2 separate regions of the Homo sapiens genome follow, and region 2 is linked to region 1. The links are contacts of gene promoters, found by promoter capture Hi-C in blood cells and fetal thymus (Javierre and others, 2016). All regions are on one chromosome and are shown on one strand. Each heading gives the region's core, a stretch centred on a gene start or on the middle of the fragment in contact. The rest is flanking DNA. Distances are from core to core; before and after follow the strand shown.

Evidence for each region. Contacts are between HindIII fragments. The CHiCAGO score rates a contact against its expected background, and 5 or more counts as called.
Region 2: a contact is called between a fragment that was not itself captured here and the fragment with the promoter of NREP-AS1 in region 1, in 2 of 17 cell types (M1 macrophages and M2 macrophages). The highest score is 5.8, in M1 macrophages.

The regions. Positions count from the first base shown.
Region 1 is chr5:111,911,115-111,914,037 of GRCh38, reverse strand. NREP-AS1 (NREP antisense RNA 1) reads right to left here and starts at 1,530. Exons shown (of 4, transcript NR_046678.1): 1 at 1,318-1,530. It also overlaps a transcript of NREP not described here. The HindIII fragment of the contact is 1,485 bases long and covers 100-1,584 here.
Region 2 is chr5:111,786,940-111,790,137 of GRCh38, reverse strand. It overlaps a transcript of NREP not described here. Among named protein-coding and RNA genes, the nearest start is that of NREP, 31 kb to the right of the region's middle. The HindIII fragment of the contact is 1,763 bases long and covers 599-2,361 here.

The sequences.
Region 1 (2,923 bases), core at 281-2,780:
CTAAATTGACTCATATCTAAAAGTACCAGCAGCCACCAAATAATTTTGCATTTAGATGCGTAAGGATGGTTGCTTCCACTTTATTCCCTAAATCAAGCTTGGCATGCTTTTAGTTTTTAAAGTAAATCTGTAGTTTGACTTGAATACCCTCATCCATCATTAGGTAACTTTTAAAAGCTGATGTTATTTCAGGGTGGAATTCTCTTCTACTTCTCTTATCCTCTCATACCCTTAGTTTTTTGTAGTAATAGCCTCATCCCTATAATCAAATCCAGAGACGGGGAGAAGGTAGAGCTGGGAATTCATTTTTCTCCCTACAAATCTTAATTATTCCTCAAAATATTTGTGAAGTAGGAAAGCATGTTTTCAGCACCCATTCCTCACTATCATCCTCTTACCCAATTGTCTGATTAGTTCCTCCTTTTATCTTTTGTTACTGTCTCATCTGGGCATTTAGCCTCCTCATTTTACTCTTCAGTCACTTAGGACCCTGAACTATGAACTCACATCCCTGTTAATCTGGGAAGATGTCTATCCTTTGAATCTTTTCAACTTCCTTTTCTCACATCAAAATATAGTGATGCTGGGTTCCATTTATTCAAGGTCATTCTTTTTCTTCTGCTAGGAAACAGCTAGATTATCTTGCAACCTAGTCTGCTGTAATGGATTAATGAAAGGCAATGTGCTAGTTCCTTATCTCCTGAAAAACACCTGAAAAATTTTAGAAGGATATTTTATAAGACCGCTTTTAAAATGAAGTAGTGCAAAATAGCAGAAAGAGTAAAAGAATTTAGAATTTGAAATTAGAGTGACATGGGATCCATGACTCCTATTCATTTCCTAAGAAATCTTCTACAAATTACTTAACCTCTCTGAACCTTCTATCCTGCCTTTACTGTAAAAAATGGATACTAACACTTACCTTCAACTTTTGTTGTGCTGTAAAATGAAAAATTGTAAAAGTACTCAAGATATTGGCTGCTGTACAGTAGGTGTCTTACACATTGTAGCTAATAAGTAAACAATATTGTAAGCCAAATAAGTGACTCAAAATCAATTACTGGTCAATGCTAATAATCTTAATGAACAAATATTTCTTAAACACTTTGTGTAGGAAGAAAAAAATACAAGTGGTACCTATGAAATAATATTCTACTTTACCTAGGCACGATGCCAGTTCTTCTCCAGCTATTCATCAAACAACCAACTATTCCTTCATTTATTGATTAACTTATTCATGTACCTATTAAGTGCAGAAGGCTGGACTGGGTAATATGAAGAATACAAAGATGTATACATAATCCTGTATTGACTTACTGTTGAATGTGACAGAATATTCAGGTATTTTGGATAGGTTAGAAAGATATCTTGATCCTGTCTTCAGTTATTAGCCTAATAAGAATGGAAACAGCTTGCAAAAGTAAGACGCAAGTAGGGTAGCAGCAGGCTCATCTGGGGAATTACTGGTCTGAAGTTTGGGCACAAATTATTGGAGCCAAAGAAGAGAGAAATCTATATCCTTTAGGAAAGTTGAAGTAAAGATCATTTTCAGAGATACAGATAGAATAGATTATGACTCAAGCTTCAGTGGCAAGGTGTGTATACAGTCACAATATATAGAAAACAGACTAGTAGTCAAGGGCACCAGGGGACAGGGCAGGCAAGGTGCAGGGTGGATGAAGTGAGGAGGGTCAAGAAGTAATTCAGATCTGTCTGAATTATAGCAGGGCAGACCCTAGCTCATTTTGCCAGGGTGGGTTTTAGTCACTTACGGAAGCCACACCATTCTGGATGAGGGAATTGGGGAGAAGAGCATGATGAAAAAAGGGTGCAAGGAAAATACTGGAGAATGTTACCATACGAATGTGTGCACAAGATGAAAGAAAAATTAAACTGGCCAACAAAAGTTCAAGGAATGCTCTAATTTAAATATTAGATATTCTAGCATAAAATTTGCAATTCAAGAGAAGCTGGTTCTCCTAAATTTACATCTTTATAAGGTAGACAGACAGGAATTTATATTTTGTCTTTGGCACTTATCAATCGTGTACCATTAGACAAATTATTTAGCCTCCCCACAACTTAGTTATCCCATCTGTAAAATGGGGTGAAGACTAGTACTTGCTTATAGGATGGTGGTGGGCACTACCTGAAATGCTGTGTGTATATGGCTCAGCACAGTGCTAGGTACATAGTAGGTAGGCAATGAGTATAAATTATTTTCGGTTTGGATTCTATGTCTATGCAGAGGTCTCCTCAAGCTTTTGCAACTTGTCATATAATTGGTGTCTATTTTTATGTCTTTTAGATGGTCAAAAAAATAGACCCTCTCACCAAAGTCAAAAAGAGGTCAGATTGAGCCTGAATAATAGTAGCACACTTATGAGTCATTTAATTTCTTTGACATCTCCTTTTCTCATCTAGTTGTGAATTATTTATGACATCTGTGCTCTTGGGAAGAAGTCCAAGCATATAACATATCTCCAGCTCACTCCTGGAGGGTCTTTCCAAGGCCCAGGGTTTCTGCCACTTAGTATGTGCTTACTCAATATTGTCTTGATTAATGGCATTGGAAGTAGAGATAATAGCAGTGCAGAATTAATGGGCTAGATACTTTGTTATTGAACACAATTGTGTAGGGTTGAACTAACAAATAGGTAATGCTTCTGCAAAGTGTGTAAGTAAAAAATATAAAATAAGTAAATAGATTATATATTCATCAGTCTATTTAGAAAAACTTACTGAGTAGCTACTATGTGTCAGACACTGTTCTATGCACTGGTAATATCCAGAACTCTGGATGCAGATATGATATCAAGAACATTGGGTACAGGGGTGATATCCAGATTGCTGGGTGCCGGGGTGATATCCAGAACACTGGGTGCAGGGGTGATATCCAGATTGCTGGGTGCAGAGGTGATAT
Region 2 (3,198 bases), core at 231-2,730, 120 kb after region 1:
TTGTAGTTCTGATTTTGAATTAACTATGGTCTTTGCTCCTTTTTCTATCAACATAGTCTTTATTTTATTATTTGCTCATAATTGTTCTTTCTATATAAAGAAAACTACTTGATGGCTGTAATATATGTTGCAAGTTGTGTATCTAGGGTGCAATTTGCCTTTCAATTTTGTTTGTATTTTCTCCTCTACATAAATTTATTTTATTCATGTCAAATCTACAAATCTTGTCCTTTATGTGTTTTGAGTTTTATGTCATTACAAGGAAGCTCTTCCATTGCCTATAGCCCTAAGATCTTATAGTTATTTGCCTATTTTTTCTCTGAGTAATTTCATGTGAGCTCATATGGTTTGGCTCAAGACTATTTCTTGCCAAAAGATTAATGACAAAGAGAGGGTCAATAAAAGCTGCTAATAATCTCATATTATTAATAGAGTCCTCCTCAAGGTTAGAAAGAGAATCTACAGCTGTACTGAAAGTACAATGAGAGCAACCATGGGGGTCTATATGCTTTACCCATGGTAGAGAAACTATAGACCAGTTATTAAATGAATAAATAAGAGCAAACAGTGGCATATCCCTGCCTAGAGCCACCAAGCTTCTCTGATAAAATATGGGCTTAAGAAAATCAAGCTAGGAATTTGTCAAAGATAAGTCTATCATAAAATGTACATGCGGCACTAATAATTTTTATTCTGAAGAAAAAACATGAATGTAGACCTTTACTCTGCCTCTATTTAGGTGGAATAATACACATTAAAAATATGTTTAAGTGGAAACTTCCGCATGCATCATTAAATGTGGTAGTTTGAGAAAACAAAGTCAATTTTTTGCACAATGTGTTTGATAACATCTTTTTCTGAAATTTGTCAAGAGAAAGAAAAAAAGCTGCAATTGGGTATGTGTATGATGCTTCCCTAGAGAAACAGAAACAATATATTACACACACACACATGCATACACAGGCATACACATATATGTGTATATACATGAACACACACATATGTGTATATACGTATTTATATACACACAAAAAGGGATTTAGAATAAGGAATAGGCTCACACAGTTATGGAGGTGGGCAAGTCCAAAATCTGCCCAGCCAGTGTCCCACTTGGAGTCTGAAGGCCGGAAGCTGCTGTAGAGCCACGAAGAGCTCATGTCAGGCGGGAAGAGCTGATGCTCCAGTTCAAAGACTATTAGGCAGAAGAATTTGCTCTTAATCAGGGGATGGTCAGCTTTTTGTTATTTTTAGGCTTTCAACTGATGGGATGAGGCCCACCCACATTAGGGAAGGCAATCTGCTTTAGTCAGTCCATGGATTTAAATGCTAATCTCATACAAAAACATTCTCACAGAAACCACTCAAAATGTTTGACCAAATATCTGGTGCCCCATTGCCCAGTCAAGTTGACACATAAAATTAACCATCACCATGTGTGTAATTTTGAAATGTGATTGTGTAGCCCAGATATTACCTATGATGCCTGTCCTTTGAGATTCAAATCAAATTCATTCAAATTCCATTCCATGTGAAGTGAACGCCTGGCTGTCTCCCTGGCTTTTCCAGGAATTCTGGGTGCATGTGAGACTGAATTATGTTCTTCCCAGTCAGTTCTGACTTCATGCTCTGGCTTGAATTTTCATTTTTATGGATTTCTCATTGTTCCATGTGTGTTTTGTTTCTACATCACACAGTGTCAGCAGAGACACAGCTCAGTTTCTCTCCCTAATTTCCACATATATATGCACACAAATACAAACACACACACGCCAACACTTCGTCCAAAATATTTGTATGTATGAGAGATTTAATGAAGATATTGAGAATACAGGAAGATTTCCTATACCAGAAATGCAAACAATTTATGTTAGACATTTTTGATCATAAATATTTTGGCCATTTTGGCCCATTGAACCTACAAAAGTAAAGTGAATACACCATGAGGGGTTGCATTACAATCCACTGGGCTCAAGAACACAATATTAGAACTTTTGCTGATGTTTCTTTTCTTTTCTCTTTTCTTTTGATTTTTCTTGTTGTTGTTGTTGAGATAGGGTCTTGCTTTGTTACCCAGGGTGGAGGGTAGTGGCAATCATGGTTTACAGCAGACTCCCCCTCCTGGGCTCAAACAATCCTCCCAGCTTCCAAAGTAGCTGGGGCCACAGGTGTGCACCACCCTGGCCAGCTAATTCTTTTTATTTCTGTAGAGACATGGTCTCACAATGTTGCCTAGGCTGGTCTCAAACTCCTGGCCTCAAGCAATCCGCCAGCCTCAGTCTTTCAAAGTACTGGGATTACAGGCATGAGCCACGATGCCTGGCCTGATATTTATTTTTAATGTAAAAAATAAGAAATTAAGCTTTACCAATATCAGATCAATAAGTATATTTACAGAATTTTAAAAGAAATATACATATATTTGAAGAACATCCTCAAAAATATTTTACTGATTAACATGCAGAATAAAAAAACGCATTTGGAAATTACGGCTTTAACTACATGCCTGATTTCTTCACCTTTTTTTTTCAAGCCCTCCTTTCTTTTCTTTCTCCAATACTTGTTTCCACCTTCTGTGGCAAAAATAATAATGCCAATGAGTGTCAGTTATGAATATCTCCAACTCTCATCCATTATAACTGAACTTTCTCCAGTACTTATCCCCAACTCTATCATGGGCTTGCTTTTGGATTTCAAAGATGCATTTACTGTAGTTTTCTTCGCAACCCACAAAGCCTGGAGCAAAAGAACAATAAGATGGTTTACTTTCTCATTGTTAGGAATAACAATTGGAAGGAAGAATTATCCAGTGGTTAGTTTTAATTTTAAACAATATTTCTCTCTCTCTTTCAAACTACTGGGCATTGGAGCTGAAGTGTGTGTGGCTTCAGAATGTTTCCCTACTGAGATCACTGGGAAATTCCAGTGTCAGATGAGAAGTGGTTGTGGGGACCTTGAGCAGAGAATACAACCTGTTGGGATGTGGGAGGAAGCACAGGGAGGGGTATCCAGCAGGGCTGAGAATATAGGACAGAGACATTTCCTAAGTTAAGAGTTCTAGTGGCTACTGCTGGTTCCTTTTTTCAATTTATTTGGTCATGCCAACCTTTTTCTCAAAGACCATCAACAGTGTAAGACATCATTGCTCTGCTGGACATAGTTTAAGAAGGGTAGCATACATGTAGCCTAGTACCTGACCTT